7 separate regions of the Homo sapiens genome follow, and regions 2, 3, 4, 5, 6 and 7 are each linked to region 1. The links are contacts of gene promoters, found by promoter capture Hi-C in blood cells and fetal thymus (Javierre and others, 2016). All regions are on one chromosome and are shown on one strand. Each heading gives the region's core, a stretch centred on a gene start or on the middle of the fragment in contact. The rest is flanking DNA. Distances are from core to core; before and after follow the strand shown.

Evidence for each region. Contacts are between HindIII fragments. The CHiCAGO score rates a contact against its expected background, and 5 or more counts as called.
Region 2: a contact is called between the fragment with the promoter of KIDINS220 here and the fragment with the promoter of RNF144A in region 1, in 5 of 17 cell types (fetal thymus, non-activated CD4 T cells, total B cells and 2 more). The highest score is 11.2, in fetal thymus.
Region 3: a contact is called between a fragment that was not itself captured here and the fragment with the promoter of RNF144A in region 1, in 1 of 17 cell types (total CD4 T cells). The highest score is 6.2, in total CD4 T cells.
Region 4: a fragment that was not itself captured here is called in contact with the fragment with the promoter of RNF144A in region 1 in 1 of 17 cell types (naive CD4 T cells); the score reaches 7.4 in naive CD4 T cells.
Region 5: a contact is called between a fragment that was not itself captured here and the fragment with the promoter of RNF144A in region 1, in 2 of 17 cell types (fetal thymus and naive CD8 T cells). The highest score is 6.6, in fetal thymus.
Region 6: a contact is called between a fragment that was not itself captured here and the fragment with the promoter of RNF144A in region 1, in 2 of 17 cell types (fetal thymus and erythroblasts). The highest score is 9.9, in fetal thymus.
Region 7: a contact is called between a fragment that was not itself captured here and the fragment with the promoter of RNF144A in region 1, in 1 of 17 cell types (erythroblasts). The highest score is 7.0, in erythroblasts.

Annotation. Positions count from the first base shown.
Region 1 is chr2:6,915,362-6,918,661 of GRCh38, forward strand. It overlaps RNF144A (ring finger protein 144A), which reads left to right and starts at 2,051. Exons shown (of 9, transcript NM_014746.6): 1 at 2,051-2,261. GRASLND (glycosaminoglycan regulatory associated long non-coding RNA) reads right to left here. Exons shown (of 5, transcript NR_033997.1): 1 at 3,041-3,300; 2 at 1,489-1,863; 3 at 462-606. RefSeq lists a silencer at 1,891-2,380. The HindIII fragment of the contact is 2,406 bases long and covers 1,410-3,300 here.
Region 2 is chr2:8,835,866-8,839,165 of GRCh38, forward strand. It overlaps KIDINS220 (kinase D interacting substrate 220), which reads right to left and starts at 1,748. Exons shown (of 30, transcript NM_020738.4): 1 at 1,615-1,748. RefSeq lists silencers at 1,805-1,864, 1,875-1,924. The HindIII fragment of the contact is 383 bases long and covers 1,576-1,958 here.
Region 3 is chr2:8,757,033-8,760,332 of GRCh38, forward strand. The region is part of intron 22 of KIDINS220 (kinase D interacting substrate 220); the gene reads right to left. It also overlaps the pseudogene LOC100216337. Among named protein-coding and RNA genes, the nearest start is that of ID2, 77 kb to the left of the region's middle. The HindIII fragment of the contact is 3,233 bases long and covers 1-3,205 here.
Region 4 is chr2:8,731,197-8,734,496 of GRCh38, forward strand. KIDINS220 (kinase D interacting substrate 220) reads right to left here. Exons shown (of 30, transcript NM_020738.4): 29 at 2,248-2,484; 30 at 1-786. Among named protein-coding and RNA genes, the nearest start is that of ID2, 51 kb to the left of the region's middle. The HindIII fragment of the contact is 1,563 bases long and covers 972-2,534 here.
Region 5 is chr2:8,666,588-8,669,887 of GRCh38, forward strand. No RefSeq gene overlaps it. Among named protein-coding and RNA genes, the nearest start is that of ID2-AS1, 14 kb to the right of the region's middle. The HindIII fragment of the contact is 5,903 bases long and covers 1-3,300 here.
Region 6 is chr2:8,582,193-8,585,492 of GRCh38, forward strand. It overlaps LINC01814 (long intergenic non-protein coding RNA 1814), which reads right to left and starts at 1,600. Exons shown (of 6, transcript NR_110257.1): 1 at 1,525-1,600. RefSeq lists a silencer at 1,491-1,860 and enhancers at 1,538-2,217, 2,218-2,896. The HindIII fragment of the contact is 2,516 bases long and covers 442-2,957 here.
Region 7 is chr2:8,552,545-8,555,844 of GRCh38, forward strand. No RefSeq gene overlaps it. Among named protein-coding and RNA genes, the nearest start is that of LINC01814, 30 kb to the right of the region's middle. The HindIII fragment of the contact is 2,355 bases long and covers 369-2,723 here.

The DNA of each region.
Region 1 (3,300 bases), core at 801-3,300:
GTGAATGCCACAAACATTAAGTGTGGCAGATGCCATGATCAACACAGACAAAGACTAAGTATTACACCAGCTCAGAGATCAGAGATCTAGGGATGGGGAACTCCATGATAGGCCGGGAAGTCTTTGCAGGGAAATCTGCATCTGAGTGCCTTTTGAGGCCTGCTGCAAACAAAACTTTCAATGCCAGTGTCCCCTCTCACTATCTCCCCAACAATGGTTGCATTCACAAAGACAGAGCAGGGGAATGAAGTCACATGTATTACCACATGAGCAATTACAAGTCTCAGTTGGGTCAGGGCATTTTTGCACCTTAACTCTCTTCCTGCAGCCCCAGATGCTCCTTTGCAGTCCCCCAGCTTGAGTGTTATACGTCTGTGTTCCATGAGAATGCCTGCATCTTAATACAGACCCCTTTATTGTGGGGAACACAGCACAACGTCTGTGCATTTGCAGTCACCCACCTGTGCATCCCCTGAATCCTTCATTCATAAGTAGTACTCAACCAGGAACTTCTTTGGTATCCCAGCTCGGACACGGGAGGTGTGAATATATTTTTCATAAAGCCCAGGCCTTTATGCAGAACGATTTTCATCCTCTAGTGAGAGGCTGAAGTAACAAAGTGCTGTTGTTAAGATTCTTCCCATTGTGCATTTTTCTTGAATAATGACATTTCTAAAAAGAATCTGAAACTGAGGCATTAGAAGGCAAGTGCTCGTTCATATATTTGAAGAGGTCAAATATTTACCAGAATAACTTCTCAATACAGAGGGGACAGCTTTATTTTATTTTACTATAAAGATGTATGTGTAGCAGAAGACAAATTATGCAGAGCTTTGAGTTAGTTAAGAATCATCTGATTTAATTCTTTGGAGAAATGAGACAAATTGTAGCTAAGGACTATGGAGTTGTTTTAGTTTGCCAGTTATATTTAATTTGACTATTTCTTTATTTATTGAGAGACAAAGTCTCACTCTGCTGCCCAGGCTGGAGTGCAGTGATGCAAACACAGCTCACTTCAGCCTTGACCTCCTGGGCTCAAGCAGTCCTCCTGCCTTGGCCTCCCAAAGTGCTGGGCTTACAGGTGTAAGCCATGGCACTTGGCCTATTTGACTTGTTTAATCCCTCCGAAGAACTCATACATACTATTGCCACCTCATTTTCCACGTAAGAAAATGGAAGCACGAAGACCTTAATAACTTGCTTAATGGCTAGTAGGTGGTAGAGCTTGAATTTAGACCACACAGTGTGGAGGGTATGCTATTAAGGAAAAACGATGTTCTAGTGGGGTTTCCATTTAATATTGCAGAAAAAAGAATCTATATATTTAAGAAGGTGTTATTTCATGCACACTCGTAGGTTTTGTTCATATATGCACATCTGACGTATAATTTAACATTTGTGTAACTTCAAGCTTCTATGGGGAGTGGCAGAAGATGCAGGAATTCTATTAATACCTTCGCAGATCTTAGATTCCAACAAGCTGGATACCTTAAGAAAAATAAAGAAATTGCTGTGCTTGGATCCCAGATGTCCATTCCACCTTTTGGGACCTCCCGGGGGGCCCTCTTTTCTTCATCCTTCAAGACAAGGATAGTGGGGTGAACAGACAGACTTTCCTTGCGAGGGTTGGCTCAGGAAGGCTCTGGGCTCATCTCACAGCCGCCCCAGCGAGGGTCGGGGAGGCAGGTGCTGGCTCCGGTGGGGTCTGCGGCAGAGCAGGACTGGAGCCCAGGGCGCAGCTGCACAGCTCAACGCCGGTTCGCGCCCTGGTTTACAGCGTTGGGCTGGGTCACCCCTTCTTTCCTAGCTTGCTGCTGTGTGTTCCCTCGGTGTAGGAATCAGGGGAGTGTCTTCTGGAGGCCACTAAAGCAGGAATAGCATTTTCATGTTAGCGTGCACGGGCGGTCTCCGCAGCCCCTCCTCGTGCCGGAGCCTGTCCTGGGGCCTGCGGGGCGGCTCCGGGCCTCGGGCCGGCGCAGGCGGGCGGCAGGGGGCGCTGTGCGGCTCGGCGCGGGGGCGGGGCCGGGGCCGAGCCTCCCGCGTGCCCGGCCTCTGTGCGCGCTCGCGCCCCGCCCGCGCAGCCGCTTCTCCCCGCGCGGGCTCTCGGCAGGCGGGAGGCGGCAGGGCTGGCATTGCAGTGCGGGCCGTGCGGGCTGCGCGGGCGCGGGGAGGCGCGGGCGGCAAACTGCGGGCACCCGGCACCCCGCAGCCAGTACCGGGCGGAGGCGTCAGAGCCGCGCACCGCGGACGAGCAGGCCCAGGTAGAGTGACGCGCGTCCCCTTTGTGTCCGCATCGCCCGGGCCGGCCGCGGAGCGGGGAGGGCGGGACGCGGCGCTGCGCGGCCGGCCTTGGGGCTCGGGGCTTGCGGCCGCGCCTGCCCCGCTGGGTCCTGCCCCGGCGCCCGGTGGCAGCGGGCGGGGGGCAGCGTCCCGGGCGGGGACTCGCGGGCTCCGTTCAGAGGACGCCCGCCCTGCCCTGCCCGTGTCCCTGACCTCGTCCCTGCTCTGCTCCTGCCCTGCCCTGCCTCTCGCAGGCGGCGCCCGCGCCCCAGGGCAGTGGGCGCTTAGGGACCTGGCGTCCCCCTGCCTGCCCTGCGCGGTCGCGGGTCTGCGCTGCGGCGCGGGACAGGGCGCCCCGGGCCAGGGTCCCGCGGGCGAGCTGGCGGCGGGGGCTTTCAAGGTTCGCGGCCCCGCCCGCAGACCCTGGGGCTGGAGCCTCGGCCCCAAGAGGAGGTCTGGGAAAGGACGACGCGTCCGGGGCATCGCCACCGGCGGGGAAGGTCGGAACTGGCCAAGAGGATGCCCCGCACATCCCCTGCGCGCGGGGTCCGCGGCTGCTACTGCCCCTGGTCCCCACCGCGAGCCCTTTCCCGGGGAATGAGCCGCCGCCCGAGCCCCGGAGTTCCCTGCGGGTCTTACCCACCCCAGCCTCCGGCCGCCGACCCCAAGCCCCCTGCACTGTGCTTGGCTCCCAGCTGTTTGGTCGCTTATGCCATCCTGGAGGCTTCCTGGTCCTGGGGTGAAGGGGTGACTTCTTTACCCTAATGGTCTTCGTAGGCAGGTCTCAGGATGTCCACTCCAAAGTTCGTGGTCTTTTTTCTAGAGAATAATAATTTTTAAAATCCATTGAACTGGCCGGGCGCGGTGGCTCACGCCTGTAATCCCAGCACTTTGGGAGGCTGAGGCGGGCGGATCACGAGGTCAGGAGATCGAGACCACGGTGAAACCCCCTCTCTACTAAAAATACAAAAAATTAGCCGGGCGCAGTGGCGGGCGCCTGTAGTCCCAGCTACTCGGGAG
Region 2 (3,300 bases), core at 498-2,997, 1.9 Mb after region 1:
AGGAAGAAGGGGATGGCACATTCATACATGATCCTATAAAAATTAATCTGGCAGTGTATGTGACCCAGACTGGAAAAATACAAAGAATCAGGGCCCTAGATACCAGTCAAGGAATCACCAGACAGTACACAAGAGAGGCAGTGGGAATAGAGAAGAAATGAGGGATATTAACTTGAAAAATATAAAATCCCTGACATTTGAACTTTCTGAACTACCAAAATATCCAGAAGAGATATTCTGGATATAAAGATAAAACTATGTGACTGGTTGGAAAAGAAAACAGGTGGAAGATGACCAGATGCCCAGCATAGGTGACTGAAGAATGGAGCTGCCCTTAACCAAAAAAAAAAAAGCAGGAGAAAGAGCAGACTTTTCTCTACTTAAGTTATGCCTCCTCCCTTCCACCACCCCAGCTGGGCGAATGGGGCTTTGGCCAGGCTGAATTTGAAGTGTCCCAAAAGAACTAGGTTGGAGAAACCCACCCAATACTTGGAAAAAGATACCGTTCACACTGTGTGTGAATGATCTGGAAATTATTCACACAAAGGGTGTAGAACAAGGATTCTCAAACTTGTGTGCACCAAAATTATTTGGGAAGCTTGTCAAATACACATATCCCTTGAGCTCCTCCCCGGGAGAATCCCATTCCCTAGATCTGGGGTGGTGCCCAGAAACTGACATTTTAACAAGCACCCCAAAATGATTCTGATGAAAGTAGTCCATGCTAGTAAAGCTAGAAGAGAACAAAGAACACACCTGGCCACGGCATTTCCCAACCTGGGCTCTGCACTCAATACCCCACGGTGGTTTAAAAAGGTGTAGATGTCTGGTCCTCAGTGTTGTCAAAATGTGGACAGGAACGAACCTGAAGGGGTGATTCCCGAGCCACACCTCAGGCCGAAGGAATGGGAATCTCTAAAACGCTAAGAAATCTACATTTTTAACAAGCGCCCATAGGGAGCAGAGATGGCTGCATAGTTATTCATAAAAAAATTTTTCATCGGTTTAAACCTGTCAACTTGAAAGAATAAAAATTCCAACATTACAAAGTGATGAAGAAATTATTTCCCTATAAATAAATCTTGGAGGCGTGGAAATCAATGGCTTGCACTATTTTGCCAGGCGTTTAAAAGCCTGCACAGGACAATGGAGCAATGGAGCCCACGATAAAAGCAAGGGAGAAAACAACACCTCCCGGCCCGTGGAAGCCTAGGAGGAGGAACCTAGAAAGACTAGCGGTACCAGCTAAGGGGGCTCTCAAGGTGGTGGATGTGCCAGAGGCTGCTTGGCAAAAGAAAAAAAACGGTTTTACCAACACCCTTCACCCCAACCCACCCGAGGGGCCCCTCAGGAGACAGACCACCAGAGACTCCAAGGTCGGAGACCTTCCCGGCGCTCCAGGAAACGCGGACTCGCCCCGAAAGCCGGGGCCCGAGCGTCCGGGGCCCGCGCCATGCCCTCCCCGGGACCCCCGGTCCGAGCTCGCCCCTTCCGCGCACTCCTCGGCTGTCCCACCTCCCCGCCCGACTCCCCGAGCCCGGCCTCGCCCCCGACTCCTCCCCAATCCCGCGGCAAAGCTTCGCGGACCGGCCTCCACACTGACGGTCTCCCAACCTGGTCCTCAGCTCCGGCGGAACGGGCCCGCTCGGCTGCAGGCGATGTCAGAGGACGGGGAAGCAAGAGACGGCGACTGCAAGCGCGTCGCCCTCACCACACCCGGCGGCCATATTCTTCCCTCTCCGCGAACTGACAGATCACGTGCCCTGGGTAGGGGAGGGACTCCGGGTTGCCACGCCCCCTGGGCGTGGAGGGGAGGGGCGGGGCGGGGCGTAGAGCAGGCGGGGCTGGAGGGGCCGCGGGGCGGGGACACCCAGGACAAGCGCCCCAGGCAAGGTTTTTCAGTGTCAATGTCACTCTTATTACAGTTAATTTATTATCCCTATTTTCCATTATAATCAAGCTTATTCAGAGAAATAAACATCAATTATATCTTCAGAAGAAACTGCACATACATAAGAAATGAAAGCCCGCTCAGCAGCCTTCTTCCGGATCCAGGAGCGAGACCTCTGCCTTTCGCGGGGCCTGTAGTTCACACTCCTTCCAGGTCTCCCAGCACCTCCCCTCACCTCCTTCAGCCTCCACATTCCTAGGCCTTGCTGCCAACAAGCGTCAATCTTGATTTTTGAAAAGGTCCAAGGATGATTACGACGTGCGTAGGTTGCGAACCATCGAAAAGCACCCACCAATGTGTCAACCTGGCAACTCAGGAAAAAGCCAATAAGGAGCCTGACTTCATCAGAAGTTGGTGCGGGGTGGGGACAATGGCTCACTCCTGTAATCCCAGCATTTTGGGAGGCCAAGACGGAGGATCACTTGAGCTCAGGAGTTTGAAACCAGCCTGGGCAACATGGAGAGACCTCTTCTCTACAAAAAAAAAAAAAAAAAAAAAAAATACAAAAATACAAAACTTAGCCAGGCGTGGTGTTGCACACCTGTAGTCCCAGCCACTTAGGAGACAGAGGTGAGAGGATCACTTGAGCCCAGGAGTTCGAGGCTGCAGTGAGCTGAGATCACACCACTGCACTTCAGCCAGGGCAACAGGGCAAGATCCTATCTCCAAACAAACAAACAAACAAACAAAAACGGAAGTTGGTGTGCCCCTCATGAAACAAGGAGCGAACACCCCAACGTGTACAGTGGAGTCCTAAATGGTGTGATTTCTTCGATAATGACTTGCTAAGGCCAGCCACTGTTGTAAACAGGGCAGGGTGGGTCAGGCGTTGGGGGTTAGAAGTATGGTAGGTGTATTAGCCCGTTTTCACACTGCTATAAAGAACCACCTGAGACAGGGTAATTTATAAAGAAAAGAGGTTTAATTGACTCACAGTTCTGCATGGCTGGAGAAGCCTCAGGAAACTTAAAATCATGGCGGAAAGGGAAGCAAACACGTCCTTCGTCACATGGCTGCAGGAAGAGAGGTGCCCAGCAAAAGGGTCAAAAGCCCCTTTTACATCCAACAGATCTCGTGAGAATTCACTCACTATCACGAGAACAGCACGGGGGAAACCGCTGACGTGATCCAATCACCCCCGACCAAGTCCCTCCCTTGACACGTGGGGATTATGGGGAATACAATTCGAGATGAGATTTGGGTGGGGTCACAGAGCCAAACCATATCAGTAGGATATAAGGATGAAGCCAACCTTAGAGTAGGGGAGAAGACAAGGAAACAGGTTAAATGTGCGTTATTTAGCACAGCCTTTCTGAGTCCTGACCATGTCCTAGGCACAGTGCAGTAAG
Region 3 (3,300 bases), core at 339-2,838, 1.8 Mb after region 1:
AGTGATCAATTAAGAAAATGAAGACTATGCTACCCACACTATTTCCTAGTCTATTCTATTTAGTCCAATCTTTGCAAATTCATTTTAGGAAAAAAAAAAGAGTTAAGATATTTACTAGTGTTTATACAAACAAGATGCAACCATTAGTTCAAAAAATAGGGTTTGTTTTTTCCCAACAAAAGTGCATACTTTAATAGGACTATTTGAATAAAAATCCCATACAAATGGAATGTGTACTTAACATTAAGAAAGCAGGGAAGCAGCATGTCCTACAACATAGAACACAATTGGCTCAATCAAGATGAATTACCCTTTCAACTAAATATCTATTTTTTATATTTATTACTAATGTCACAGTCAGTTCAGTAAATGCCAACAGTCTTACAGCTTTAACCTTTAGTCATGAGAAGCACACTTGATTGTTTCCAAAGGGATATGTGAGGCCGTCTTCATTTCAGAGGAGCAGAAGTGACTGTACTGTTGTTTGCTCTTTAATGTTTCAACTACCCATTCCGTTGTCTCATGAAGGCCAGTACCTCTGGTTGCTGAAGTTTTGAATATTTGCCATTTTCAGTCCTTCGAGGCAGATAACCCAAGTGAATGTGCATCTCTGAGGGAGTCATGGCCTGTTCCATGTCCTGCTTATTTGCAAATGCCATTAAAATGGCTTTTCTCAGCTCTCCATCAACATGGCAACTAACACTGACTTGGAAATGCCAATTCGGTCTCGGTCACAACTGTCTGCTCCACAGCATCTGTGTTTGAATAATAACATCTTCAGTATGGCTCTGTCCTCCTAAATCCTGGACTTGGAATTCTGTATGTTTTCTTTGTTGGTTTTGTTTTTAAGATGGAGTTTCACTCTTGTTGCCCAGGCTGGAGTGCAGTGGTGCAATCTCGGCTCACTGCAACCCCTGCCTCCTGGGATCAAGCAATTCTCCTGCCTCAGCCTCCTGAGTAGCTGGGAGTGCAGGCACCAGCCACCACGCCTGGCTAATTTTTGTATTTTTAGTAGAGACGAGGTTTCACCATGCTGGCCAGGCTGGTCTCGAACTCCTGACCTCAGGTGATCTGCCTGCATCGGCCTGCTAAAGTACTGGGATTACAGGCGTGAGCCACTGCGCCCAGCCCTGTATGGCTTTTATAAGTTGCCGTCTCAACATTAAATCTGATGATAGGAATGTTAGTAATGACTTTTCCAACCTGTAATCTGCATAAAATTGTGGTTTTTCCTGTCTATGTAATCCCCAAATTAAAATCCTCACTTCCCAGGTTCCAAACACACTGGAAAAAATACTTGAGAAAAATCTACCATGATTAAGCCCTGTTCACCCTCACCAATCCTCAGGAACAGATCCTGGTCTCAGCAGCAACTCCAACTCGAGGCACCTCTGCTCACCTTGGCCTTTGGATCTGCCTCTGAGCCTGGACTTCCACACTGGATCTGTCAATTTGCTGGTATTTTCAAGGAAAATACTTCTGGTTTCATTGCTTTTTTTCTATTGTTATTCTGTTCTCTGTTTTATGTCTCTCCACTCTAACCTTTATTATTTCCTTCCTTCTGCTAGCTTGGAGTTTAATTTGCTCTTCTTTTTCTAGCTCCTCGAGGTGTTAGGTTAGGGTGTTAATTTAATATCTTTCTCTTTTTTTAATGTACGCATTTACAGCCATAAATTTCCCTCTGAGTACTGCCTTTGCTGCATCCCATAAGTTTTAATCATTCCTAATATTCTTGTAAAAGTATTTTCATAACTATTCCATGAGTCACCTTTCCTACCATGTTGGAAAGAACATTAGCTTAGGGGGTCAGAAAGTAGACACTTTGTCTGCCACAGCCAAAGTAATAAAAGTACTAAGAGCTGAAGCTGTCCACATGCAGAAGACTGCATTAAGTACACAACAACTCTCAACAGAGAAAAGAACTTGCCAGAAGAGAAAAGAGGCATCTATGCTCGTGTGGTGGTCACAGAATATTCTCAAGACAACAATGCGAACAGTGCCAGGTGTTCTCACTGACACTCACTTTTCAAGGTCTACAAAAGTAAGTTTGCATTTTAGGCATCTTATTGAGTAACTACACTAGGAAACAACGAAGTGCTTATATATTCTGCAGGCCAAATAGATCATCATGGCATGCCTTCTTCAAGTGTGTTTGTCTATTTCTGGTTTAAAAGAAGACATTTGCAAGTATCTAATGTGTTTGACTTATGTGTTTAAGGACGGTGTGATTAGGGTTAAATAGTGCAAACCATAAAAGCACTTGTATAAGCTGCCCTGGAAACCATTGGCAGAGCTAAACAAAGTTATTATTTCACTTACTAGAAGAGTTTACTCGACATTAAACAAAAACTATTTCCCACCGAGGGTGTATATCTCCAAGATGACCTATTTGGCCAGAACATCAGGGCCCAAGATTATGTTTTTATATGAAGGAAGGAAACTTGTACGCATGTAATTTAAAGGATTAAAAAAACCCTTAAACTCAGTAGAATGTCATCATATACAAAAACTCTCTTTGGCTTTAAGGCTGCAATTCTGGCAACTAGATGGATGAAAAAACAATCAACAACCAGGGAGGGTAAAAGATAAAAACTCAAAAGGGGTATCTGCCTAGGTTCAAGTACAATACTGGTAAGGCACTGTCTTCATTCATGTCTACGACGTCGAATGTTCTGAGGAAGGTACATTTAGGGGCTCTGTATCCCTCTTCTTATATAAACTCTAACAGGGAAACTATATTTAAAAGTTATGAAGAATTGAGAGGGAATTTTAAGAAGAACGAAGTGGCTGAATACCTACTGTCTGCCATTCTCTGAGGCAGGTGCTTTACCTAGTTTATCTAACTTCTCTCTCTGCATCCCATAAGGTATTTATTATTTCCATTTTTAACATGAGGAAACTGAGGCTCAGAGAGGTAAGCAATGGATGCAACACCACCACAGACATAGCAGCAGAGCGGGTACCTGCTCCTGACTGCTTCAAAAGCTGCTGACTGCTCACTGCACCAGTTCAAACAGGAGCCACAGACATGGCTCAAAATCCCTCAGGTAATGACTTACACGTTTTTAACTCCTTAAAACTATAATAGAAAAGAATGCTGTTACATATTACATTTTAACAAATTGAAGAAGATCAACAAATAAGCTGTGCTCATAAGTCATCCTGGGTTTTTCTTTTAGTTTCAGTTTTTTGCAGACTGAAATAAAGCTTCTCCTCCATCTTCATGCACATATTTAATTTCCTTCATCATTTTTTCAGAATCCAGATCAGCACTTTTTTGTTTACAAAATTATGCAAACC
Region 4 (3,300 bases), core at 503-3,002, 1.8 Mb after region 1:
ATTTGCCTTTTCAAGCTGGGAGTCATCCGCCACTTCATTGTGCAGAGAGTGATTGGGAGAACTTTCACTGGATCTCACTCCTGAATCCGATGAATCCTTTTTGTCAAGGAGCGCATCCGATAAATACTCTTTGGCTTTAATGAAGGTTCTGATCGGCTCAGCACTGTGTTCTGGAGACTTCGGCACTCTCTCTACTTTCCCTTCGGCTTTTCTGTCTTTGTCATCTTTGAGCAGTGGAGTGTTATCTGATTCTTCTGTGCCAGATTCATCCTCGTCACTTGGGAGTTTTTGATAGCGCAGCCCACTTCCCTTAAGCTTCAAATCTGTCTGGAAGAGGCTTGACCTTTCGGAAGATTTCTTGCCTGGGAGAAGCTTACTGCCTGACTGATCTGATTTTTCATCTTCTTCAGTGATAGGATCCAGGGGGGAAGCATCGTTGGTGGAAACCCCTGATGATGAATAATCGATAACATCTCCCCTCTTCATTAGAAAGGACTTCCTCCCATCATCGGGCTTTGGTTCACTATCCTTCCCCTTTTCTTGCTCTAGGTTTGAATGAATAGAGCCCCCTGATGAACTCTGACCCATGTAATATGTGCTATGTGGAGAAGATCTGCCACTAATGGTTGTAGACCCGGGGCCCCCTTCTAACTGGGACATCTGAGCAATGTATTCTCTATAGGCATCTCTATACTCGGCCTGCACCTTATCAGTAAGCTTTGAAATTTCAATACTGGAATCCTGGGAATTGAGACTCGAAAGACTTGGGGTTCTGCGAGTTTGTGACTGTGAAGACAGAAAAAAAATAATTTAAAAATTCAAATAAGAAGAAAAAAGGCATAAACATCAGCTTAGGAAATATATATGTACACTAACCATTTAAAAAGTCATCAAAACATCAAATTCTTTTAAAAGAATTCTACATAACACAGATTAACAAAAGCTGTGACCTTATAATGCTGTTACTAGAAAGCTTTCTATAAATTTTAATAAAATCAGTTTATTGTTAATATTTAAAAGTATGATTAAACACTGTATTAACAAATAATCTTAGCACTTGTTTCTGGTTTTTATTTCATTTTTAAGAGACAGGATCTTGCTGTGTTGCCCAGGCTAGATTCAAACTACTGGACTCAAGCAATCCTCCCGCCTCAGCCTCCTGAGCAGCTGGGACTATGGGCATGTCCCACATGCTCGGCCACAGCACTTGTTTTTATAACTTCAAACGTTTAGCTTTTATTTAAGGCCAAAGTCAACTTCATTGATAAAATATAAAATGCAATGAGGCCAATAGTTGGGCCTTAGTAAACAGAAAAATAAAGTAGTTTTACAAGTTTATTTCCAATATTAAGTTTTAGAATTAGAATTTGCTTCAGATCCCAGAATAGCTAAGAAACAAGGAGCAAAAAGTACAGATGAGGAAAAAGAAGGAGAAGAATCAAGAAAGTTTAAGAAGGGTCAAGAGCAAAGGCTAAAACAAAAAAGAAGGAGCAAAGTGAATTTGTTGGGGACCTTCTCAAGGAAATAGGACATTTTCTTCCTTCCCCAAGGCGCTGCTCCTCCTCACCGCTGCCCTGCCCTGCCCACTCAGTGTTACTCGCTGCCGCCCGCTGTGCCTCCTCCCCCGTTGTTCTCCACACCCTGCTCTGCTTTTCCTCCTGCGCTCTCCTCACTCCCGCTACTCCTCCTGCATCTCTCACTTTGCTCTGTCCCTGCCCCTACCCCTACCCCTCACCTGGCCTCCTTCTTCTAAGAATCTCCAAAGGAAGAACGCGCCTACATCTAATGCCAGACCAGAAGAAACCAATATCCGTGAAGGGTGTGCAGGCGTCCTGGAAAACCAAAGGATGGTGCTCAAAGGGACACTATGTGGCCAGTGTTCCAATGAAGATGTACTTCAACCAACAGTTACTGAATGCAACAGGAAGATCGCCTGAGAAAGGCTGAATTTGCTGACCACCCTAGCTCAAGTGGCCTAATCCCTATTGACTCTGCATGCTGTGACCCTGATGGATATCTCAGCTCTCATCAATGTCTACATGAGCTACTTTTTTGTTTGTTTCACTGACTGCCCCTCTCCACATGGATGCAGCTCCTTGAGTACAGGGAGCCCTCCATCTTGTCTCCTGTTCACTTAGGTATTCAGTAAGCATTTTCTGAATGACTGTCTAAATGCCCATATAATCTCAGTGAACTGAACGGTGTGCTTATTCTTCAATAATATGAAAAATGCCATTCAATAAATACCTGCCAACTTAGATTACTGTGACGAGGGGCACCTTCATCCAGGCCAAGCGTGTTCAGCTCTTCGAAGCTGAAGTTGAGTGTGTAGGGCGTCTGGCTGGAGAGCTCGGTGTGAGGCAGCTCGTTGTGGGAAGCGCGGCGAGCAGGCTCACCGTGCGGGGCTGGGCCACTGCTGCTCTCACTGAGGAAACGTGGGTCTTCAGGGACCACGTGGCTTTCTGCGTTTCTCATTTCTAGTACCTTAACAGAAGAAAAACATAAATATTTACACTAACAAATCATATTTTAGAAGCTTTAGAAATATTTAGAAATACCAAACATTATAAAGCTATTGCAACAGCAATGAGAAAGCATACTTCTGGTAAGTGAATTTCTAGTGAATTTGTTTTATACATCAGCTTATCTTTCATGTTCATTAATACTAAAGGAAGCAATGGTAGAAACCACCATACATATACTACACTGCAATTTGTCCATTAAATTATTACTTCTGTTTAAAACTTAACTTGAGGACAAAGAAAAATGCAGCTGGCTTGTGTCAAAACCAGAGCTGGCCAGGAGTAGGGCGGTAGGTCCAGATTTTATTCAGAACTATGGCAACAGGGGTAAGCAGTCTCACTACAGAAGGGAGTCCAACTCGGAATAAGCACGAATGAGTGGGGATCTACCACCAAGGGGCAGGGTGGGGGTCGTGGATGGAACATTACTAAGGGGAGGCAGCAGGAGTGGGGGACTCTTGGTACGCCGATGGCCAGGGTGAGCCGACATCACCTGGGGGTGGGGGGGTTAGTGAGGCGTTTGATCAAATACTGAGGGTGATCACACATGTAAACTGACTTAACAGGATTCTTGCTAAACCTGGGCAATGCAAGCCCTATAAGGATGAATGCTGAAGGTCAAGGCCTCGAAGGCTTTGAGGAGCCTGATGAGAGTTAAGGCAGGTGAAAGCATGAAGAACCGGCAGGCGGCCTCTTCCCCAAATCTCTGAGTGAAATGCCCAAAAAGGCAAAGGCTGCCAAGTGCTGCTGTGTGTATTTTCCACAACACAGGATTGCA
Region 5 (3,300 bases), core at 291-2,790, 1.8 Mb after region 1:
TAGAAACCTACAACGTGAAATCCAGTCATGGAAGCAGCCACAGAACAGTTGTTTCTTTCTGGTCAAATTTATTACATGATAAATTAGTATATTGTTATACAATCATTTCAATATAGAGTGTATAACAGCATGCACATCTCTGTCCCCCAGCCCAAGAAACAGCACATTCAGCATGCACCACTGAAGCTCCTGGAGTAAACCTCCAGCCCTGGTCCTCGGCCCCCGCCTGGAGAAGTAACCATGTGGATTCAGCACTCCTGGCCCTCCGCACTGCTCCATACTTTCATACTCACGTTGGAAACAATGAGTAGTGTTGTGTTGTTTGTTTGAACACTCTGGATACACCAGCATCATATTGGACATATACTTCTGTGGCCAGGTGGTCTTCTTCCATCCTTATGTCTTTTATCTTCATCCATTTTGACGTGTGCAGCTCTAGTCCATTTATTTTTACTGCTCTCTAGAACTCCACTGTTGGGCACTCCCACATTATCCCCTCTCCCATAGATGGAAACTTAGATGTTTTCATAATGACAAACAAATGCCGCAGTCAACACGTGTGCACATTCATGCGCATGCCCATGGCTGGAACTGTGGGGTCAAGGATGGGCACATCTTCAGTTCTACTCAGAATGCCCCTTTGCATTCCAGTGTGGTGGGATTGATGCCCATGCTCCCTGGCAGTATTGGAGAATTCCCACTGCTCCACATCCTCACCAGATTACCAGATTTTCTGTTGTCAGACTTTTTAATTTTTGCCAATCTCATGGATGTGTTGCGCCATGGTAAACCAAGTCCTAACAAGGGCCAAGAGGCCTTAGGCCAACACCATCTGGCTGCCACAATTCCACCCCCACACCACCCCACTGTACACCTTCCTACACTTAGTTCCTATTCCCTTCCTGGACTCACCGCGTTTCTGCCACCCTGGCCTCGATGTTCCATGTATGTACCAGGCACTCATGCCTTGGAACTTTTACACTGGCTGTTCCCTCTTCCACAAATGCTGTTACCCAGGTACAGTCATGTTCTCTCCTTCCTTTCTTCAAGTCTCTGTGCAAATGTCACCTTCTCAGTGCAACCTATTGGGGCCACCTTATTCACAACTGTACCCAATCCTTGCTCCTGGCACTTCTCCTTTATCACCTACACCTTTATCACCTTCTAATAACCTATGTGATTCACTCACCAATTTTATTTCTTTGTCTCTTCCCACCAAAATGTAATATCCAGGTGGTGAGGGATTGTTGTTGATTTTGTTTCCTGGTATTTCCTAAGTTCTGAGGAGAGTGCTTGGCACATAATAGGCATTCAGTAAATACTTGCTGAACACATGGATGGATGAATGGAAGAATGGATGGAAGGATGGAAGGATGGATGGATGAAGTGATCAATGGATGATGGGATGAATGGATGGATGGATGAAGGGACGAAGGGATGGATGGATGGTTGGATGGAGCAATGGATGGATGGATAGATCAATGGATGGATGGATGAAAAGATGAATGGATGAATGGATGGAAAAATGGATGAAGGGATGAAGAGTAAATGGATGGATGGATGGATGGAGGAATGGACATATGGATAAAGGGATGAATGGGTGAATGGATGGATAAAGGGATGGATGGAAGTAAATGGACGGATGGATAAATGAATGGATGGATGAAGGGGTGAATGAATGGTAGACGATGGATGAAGGGATGAGTTGATGAAGGAATGGATGGATGAATGGGTGGATGGATGGATGGACGGATGGATGAAGGGATGAATGGAAGGAAGGAAGGATGGATGGATGGATGGATGAAGGGATGAATGAGTGGATGGATGGATGGATGGACGGATGGATGAAGGGATGAATGGAAGGAAGGATGGATGGATGGATGAAGGGATGGATGGATTGATGAAGGGACGGATGGCTGGATGGAGTGATGGATGAAGGGATGGATGGATGGGTGGATGGATGAGGGGATGGATGGATGAGGGGATGGATAGATGGATGGATGGATGTCTTAAAGCTCAGTCATTTGTGCTACTATTCACACTGGCTGCAATTTGTGAGCTTGGAAAACCAGTCCTTTTTTCCAGCCTGAGGTAAGATCTGATTCTTCACAAGGCTGTTTCACTACTGACATGTTTTCATCAGATACGTTTGCATGTTCATTAACTCATGTAAACATTATTAAAAGGACTATGTAAACAGCTTCCTACACGTTTCCTCTTGCTTTCATTCAGGTATAATTATATGAAAACACAATGTACCATATGTGCCAACGGGCCATTCCCTTTCTTGTGCTTCCAAACGACAATTCCCCTCTGCAAACACACTCAGATACCAGGTCTTTACATTTCTCCTTCTACTCCAAATCTAATCTGCCTTCTGAAGACAAAAATCTCAAAGCCCCTGCCCAATGATATGGCAGCCAACAATGTCCATTCTCACCCTAATATGGTCTAGGAACTCACTCTTACCTTTAAAAGTGCTTTGCAAATTGTAAAAGGGTATTCAAAAATGGTTACTTCCTCCTTCACTGTACCCTTGTCACAACTATTCAAATAGTCATAAACATTCAATGCTGCCAAACATGATGGTGGTTTCCAATCCTCTTCACCCTACCCAAGTCCAACATGTCACCCCTCCAATAGTCACTATGTCCCCTCACACAGGAAACATCTCAGAAACAGGCATGAGTGTCCTGACAGCTGCAGAGGAATAAGTATGCTGAAGGTCACTGAAAGTGACTGGCCAGCAGCCTCTAAATCAGTTCTATTTTCTTCCTGGCATACTACTCGTCTAGATCTTCCAGCCCCCTCCCTTGCAGTTAGGTATGGCCATGTGACCGAGTTCTAACACAGTGGTTCTCAACCAGGACAATTTTGCCTCCCGGGGACATCTAGCAATGTCTGGAGAGGAGGCAACTGTGGTTGTCACAACTAGAGGAGAGAGGAGAGTTCTATGGGAATCTAGTGAGTCTCTGAGGCCAGAGAGCATCCTGCTGAACATTCCACAATGCACAAGACAGCTCCTCACAACAATAAACACCATTCACAGGCTTTGTGGCTTTGTTCTAACTCTGATTAGCCTTTGGCCAGCTCAAATGCCCATGGTGCCAAAACCCTACACTCACCCTGTACTAATAGTTGAGAAACCCAGTTCTAACCAATGGAATGTGAGCTAATGTGTTGGAGCCAATTCCTTGCCTGATCCATAAAAACCAGCCAAGTGCAGTTGTCCAAGCTCTTTCCTCTTCCTTAGTCTGGGTGGAGATGATCCCAGGCAACTTGGAAGCCACACGCCGAATA
Region 6 (3,300 bases), core at 450-2,949, 1.7 Mb after region 1:
ACTCAGGAGATGGGCCCATCTCTTTTGCCCCAAGTCCTAACACTCCAGAAAAGGCATCTGGAGCAGTCTGTTCCTTCTGATGCAAAATAAATCCACTGACACTCATCCTCCCTGGGCACCCAGGCCCAGAGCCCAGAGAACAGGCGGCTGCCTAGAGGCATCAAGGCCACCAGCCTCTTTCCCCCTCCACTGCCCTTTAAGTCCTTCCCTGGGCTTGGCTGAGGAGGCAGCAGGGAAAAGAGGCACAACTGCAGGAGAAAGGAGGAGGGCGGGTGGACGTGGCCAGACCCAGGAGGCTGCAGGGAGCTGGGACTCAGCACAGCAGCCTGGGAACTCCACTTTCAGCCTCGGCTAAAACCCCATGCCCAGAGTTCCTCAAAAAGCCCCTCAAGTCCCTCAAAGGCCCCAAAACATGCTGGGTGCTGAAGACAATGGCCTGCAAGCTTCACATGAGAAACTGAGACCCTCTGTCCCCACTCTTCCAGCAAGTTGAGGCCATTTTCTAGGAATGGTGAAGTCAAAGAAGCTGCTCTTTTCACATTACTCAGAAACACGCACTACCCCCAATCACAGATGCCAGCCATGCACAGGGGCCCGTTCTGAAGGCAGGGGCAGGTGCACCAGCCCAGGAGCCCAGAGAAACTACAGCCAGCGCTGCCTCGGCTTAGGGAACCTGCGGCCGGCTTCCTGGGTACAGCCATCGTAGGAAAGAGGGCCTTTCCTCAGCCAGCATCCCTGCCCCTTCCTCCACCACCTTCCCTCTGTGGGACTGCTCCCAGGCAGACCTGGGGCCTCAGCCAGCATGGGCAGGAACTCCCAGAGGACACGGGAAGGACTCCTGAGGTGCGGACTGGAGGTATGGGCGCCTTGCAGCACAGGGCCTAAGAGGAGAGAAGCAGCTCAGCCTCCCCAGGTGGAAGGAGGCACCCCTTTCCTTCCAGGACAGCAACCTGTTGGTTTGTCCCAGGCCTGGTCAGGTGGGGCGAGGCTGCTCCTGGCGAACTAGGGACTCCTCTGCCCAAGCCCCTTCTCAGGGGAGGAGACCGGCATCCTACACACCCATGTCCACCATCCATGAACATTTACTGATCTCTCAGTAAGTCCCAGACCCTGTGCTAGGGTCCCTGCGATCACGAGCTCATAGACCAGATAAGCGCAGAGAAAGTTGTAATTAAACTACCCAATGCAGAACAATGACCAGCCCAGGTCAGGATACAGACCCAGGGCCATGGCTTAAGCAGCAGAGGGCCTGGGGCGTGGGCGGGGGTGCAGGGGAGGGAAAGGTCCAGAGAGAGGGTGTGACCCTGCAGGTCCGGCATAGCCAGGCATGAGGGCACTCCAGGTGGGAATGTGCCGCCCCAACCCCGGGCACCCCCCGGGGAATCCGGCGCCCGGTGACACAGGCCGCCCTCTTTGAGGGCCTGGATTGAGGAAGTTGGGGTCAGAGCTCCAGACTGGAGTCCCTCTTGCTGAATTCCCCTTCCAGACATCAGAGGCAAAGAGGAACCCTCATTCAGAGACCACCTGCACCAGCGCTTCCGGGCTGGGTCAGAAAAACAGGTCGTCCTCGCCGCCCGCGCCGGCGCCTGCAGCAGGTTCCTCTTCTGGGAGCCAGCACGCAGCCAGAGCTCCAGGGAGGGGGGTGCACCCCGGGGGTGGGACCCACGGGGCGGGGCCAGGCGACACCTCGCCCACTGCCGTGACTATGCCCAGCCCCAGCCAAAGCCCGCCCACTGCCGCAGCATGCCACGCCCCCTCCCGGCCCGCCTCGCAGGGTCATGTTCAAGGTCCTGCCCACCGCTCCTCCCACAATCCAGCCTCAGGGAGGGCCTCCAGGCTCACCTTCCCAGCCTCATTCCGCACAGCTTGCTACTCTCCACACGCACCGCCTCCCGTCTCCAGGCATACCAGCCGACCTGTTGGTCGCCTCTTTTCAAGTCCCCCTCATTGCTTAAGACCTTTCATCATTCCTAGGCCTGTGTATAATCTTTCTCTCTTTTACACCCCCCGCCCCTACCCTGGCAATCAGGGCACACATCGAATCCTGCCGGCTACTTTAACAGCTTCAGGCAGACCCCCATGGTTTCCTCCCGGCGAGGCACTTTGAAGTCCTGAAGAAATAAGTGTGAGGTGGTATGAGAGGGGCTCCTCGGTGACTTCCACAGGCCTCCATATCAGGCCTTCCCCTGCAGAATTCCATGGACCTCTCGGGGGTCCAGGACTCCTTCACAGCAGGGAGGCCCCGAACAGGAACCTCGGGCCCTGCCTCGGGATCAGCGGGATCAGCGTTCCTCCGGGGCTGACTGGAGAACTTTCCTTTATCTGCAGGACCCGCTGGGGTCTCCCGGGCCTAGGCTTCCCTCGGAACTGCATCTCGAAGGGCAGCTCAGCTCGCACTCCGCGCACCTACTGTGTGCTCTCTAAGCTGGACACCAGGAAAGCTCTGCGACTCTGCTGTGAACTCTGGGGTCAGTGAGACCCCGGGGTCAAAAGCTGGCTCTGCCGCTCACCATGGCTGTGACCCTGAGAAAGTTGTCTAACTTCCCTGAGCTTCGGTTTCCTAAGCTGCAAAATGGGAACAGCAATCGTTGTCTGTCTTGCAGCCTTGTTACAATGGCCGAAGGAAAGAGCATGGCACGGAATGGGTTCTCAGTTAGAGGCTACAGAATACCCAGCTCCTCCTGCAGGTGAAGAGCACCAGCTCTGAGCCAAATGACCTGAGCTCACACACGGGCTCTGCCAGACACTGGTTGCATAACCTTGAACAAGTTTCCTCATCTTTCTGTGCCTCGGTTTTCTCATCTGTAGAATGGGCATAACATGGTGCAGTGTTTCTACTTGGGAGGGATAAAAATGGTCTGGAAGTTGATAGTGGTGACGGCTGCACAACCCTATGAATATAATTCACATCGCCAGGTTCTGATATGAATTATAAAATATAAATTATAAAAATGATAAGCTTTATATATTTTTCCACAATTTTTAAAAATATGCCAAGAAGCAATGGATTGTACACTTTCAATGGGTAAATTGTATAGTACGTTAATTTCTCTCACTATAACTGTTTTTAGAAAATGTTAAGAATGGAGATAATAATAATGTTACCTACCTCTAAGGGTCATTAGAGGAGAATGAATGAGTTCACACAGTGCTTAGAAGAGCTTACAATAGTGACCAGCACAGGATAAACCCTTAACTGGTGTTGACTGTCATATCAAATATACCTCATATGTCACTTCGTTTCATCTCTGAAACAACTCTACGGGTTAAAATGTATTTTTCCTTATTTTATGGGCAAGA
Region 7 (3,300 bases), core at 296-2,795, 1.6 Mb after region 1:
TGCACAGTTACCGTTGAACTTTCTATTCTGACGTTCTCTTTTCACACTCGTTCAGAAATACACGCTGGTACCATTTCATTTGCTTTTAAATAGCACGCCGAAGAGGAGACATGCCCAGTGGTCTCCGAGTCATGCCCCACAGGATCCAGGTCATTTGCCTAAAAGGCAGAAGTCAGACCTGGTGAAAGCTCACAGGTAACAGCCGGGGGGCCGCCCTTGCACCTGGCATAGGCCTCACCAACCAGGTGCCTGTGCAGAGGTCTCTTAACTGTTTAAACTAAGGTAGGTTTTTCTGAAAAGCAGCCTCTCTCAGATTTTTTGGCCTCAGGACCACTTTGCCCTCTTAAAAATTATTCAGCATCCTCAAAAGCTTTTGTTCATGTGAGTTTAGATTTGATGGCATTTGCTGTTTTACAAATTAAAACTGAGAAAATTTTAAAATATGTATCAACTTGTATCAAAAATAACAATAATTCATGACATGTAAACATAAATTTCATATTTTAAGAAAAATAACTACATTTTCTTTCTTTCTTTTTTTTTTTTTTTTTTTTTTTTTGAGACAGAGTCTTGCTCTGTCACCCAGGCTGGAGTGGCAGTGGCCCAATGTCAGCTCACTGCAACCTCTGCCTCACGGTTTCAAGCGATTCTCCTGCCTCAGCCTCTCCAGTAGCTGGGGTTACAGGCGCCCACAACCATGCCCAGCTAATTTTTGTGTTTTTAGTAAAGACAGGGTTTCATCATGTTGGCCAGGCTGGTCTCGAACTACTGACCTCAAGTAATCCATCTGCCTCGGCCTCCCAAAGTGCTGGGATTACAAGCGTGAGCCACCGTGCCCCAGCCACTATACTTTTCAAAACAAAAATATCAGTGAGAAGAATGGCAATAATTTATGCCTGTTCAAAGCTCCTGGGTGTCTGACTTAGAAAACAGCCAGGTTGTCAGATCTGCTTCTGCCCTCAGCCTGGGCCATTAGATCACTTTAGCTGAGGCATGTGAAGAAAATTCAGCCCGAAACAAATATGTAGCTAGAAAAGAGGGACATGTCTGTAATAGACTTTTCAGACAATTGTGGCTATTCCTCTTCCATACTATACCAAAATTCAAATCATGATAGTTTCTCATAGGTTAGCTGCACTGTTGAATGAGAACCCATCTCACCTATTTTTTTTATATGACTACATTAAAATCTATTAGCTATCCTGCACTTTGAATAGATCATTTGTTTACCCACTCATGATTTTGCAATAAATGTATTGGTCATTTGGCAAATATTGATTCACTGACGTGTGATCTATCAAACGTCAACACATTTCATTACACAGCCAGTGCATTAATATGATCATGAATTCCATCAGAAAAGTCCGGAGGTGTTAGGAAGCTATCAAGCTCACAGCAATGGATACAAGTTTTCTAAAATTTTAATTTTCACACGAAAGGTCTAATTGTATGGCAACAGATACTATCAGTTATTTTTCCTGAAGCCACAGGCTTACTTCATTTATTTTCAAGAAAATGTCTGCCAAATATCCAAGTCTGGTTAACCTAGTTTAGGTTACAGAAGTCCCTCTCAGCTCTAAAAGGCCAGCCTCTTACAGAAAGTTCTGAGGGTCTTAAAGTTCAGGGCAAAGCAAAAAAGAGACCTCCAGGGAGATATTCCCTGCAAGCAGCTCCCAACAGCCCAGGGAATGACGATTAATTTGAACCGCATTTTCCCAGGGCATTGGTAAGAGGTCAGCCTACTCCACAGCTGATCTCTAAATCCCAAACCCAGCATCCAGTGTAGAAATGATGAAAATGGCCAATACATTCTTCTGGCAGTTGGTGCAGTGCTCAGTGCATGAAGGTTGAAGTAACCGTGCAGTGTGGGGCACCAGCCAAGACGCCGTTTCTACCTGGGGGCTGTCTCACCGTGCAGGAGGCGCGTTTGCTCCACAGTTTACTGTCAGCATCATACATACAGGTAACCAAAACCCTTGTCAACGGCCACAGGCAACCATCAATAGTGAGCACAATGTAACCAACGAAGGCTGGGGTGTGAAGAATCCAGCCAGCCTGATAGGCAGGGCACCATGCTGCAGTCAGGAGACCTGGGTTCCGGGGCCAGCCCTGCCTCCAACATGCTAGGGACCATGGCCAAACCACTTAATGTCTTTGCATGGGCTTCTTTGCCCTATAAAATGGTCAGGGGTGAGGTAGATGAACTCAACAGGTGCTGAAATTCTCCTCTAAGAAGTAGAGATATAATTACAAGATGTCAGCGCATAATATCATGTGTACCCACCCTAAAAACTCCATGAACCCCCAATGGACACACAAAAAAAATCATTGCTTACAGGTAATATTACTTTCTAACCAAAGTTTTATTTTAGAAATTTTAAAATATTGTCATAACCGAGAAGAAAAGTCTGTAGGATGGCAGGTGATGTTGGAGCGGGGTTAAACAAATAGACCACTGGGACATGTTAGAGTCTAGAAACAGATCCATTATAAATGGAAATTTAATATGTGATAAGGGAGGCTGAAGCAGCTTTAAAACATATCCACAAATTATTTGACATTTCTCCCATTGAGAAGTGAGGTTTATGTCCCCTCTGTTTGAATCTGGGTGGACATGTGACCGTCCACCAATGGAAGTGACATGTCTGACTTCCATGGTGAGGTCACAAAAGGCCATGCAGGTTCTTCCCTGTTCTGTTGCAACACTAGCTCTTGGTGTCCTAAGCTTTCATGAACAATTCAGACCACCCTGAGGCCTCCATACTGTGAGGAAGCCCAAGCCATATAGATGCCAAGTTAGGCACTCCAAGGACTGTTCCCAGCTGAGCCCAACTTTTGAGTCATCCCAGCCCAGGTACCCAAACACGTCAGTGAAAAACCCTTAGATGATCCCAGTCCCCCACTGTTCACACCACCCCAGCCACTCAAGTCTTCCTAGCTGAGGCCCCAGACATGGTAGAGCAGAGCCAGATAATCCCCATTCTGCCTAAATTCCCAGACTTCAGAGTTCACGAGCAGAATCAAGTTGTGATTGTTCTGTGCCACTAAGTCTAGCGGTATATGTTCTGCAGCAATAGATAACCAGAACAGTAAATGTTTCTAATCACTGAAAAAATACCAACCTTTCAAAAAGTGATAGAAAGACTTAGAAATTATTTTTAAAATAATTTAAATTATAATAAATATTATACAATATATAAACAGTATAAAGTATAAAATATTTTAAATAATTTTAAAATATTATTGTAAATATTTTAAATTATAATTTTAAAATATTTAAAAATAAATTTTAAATGGATT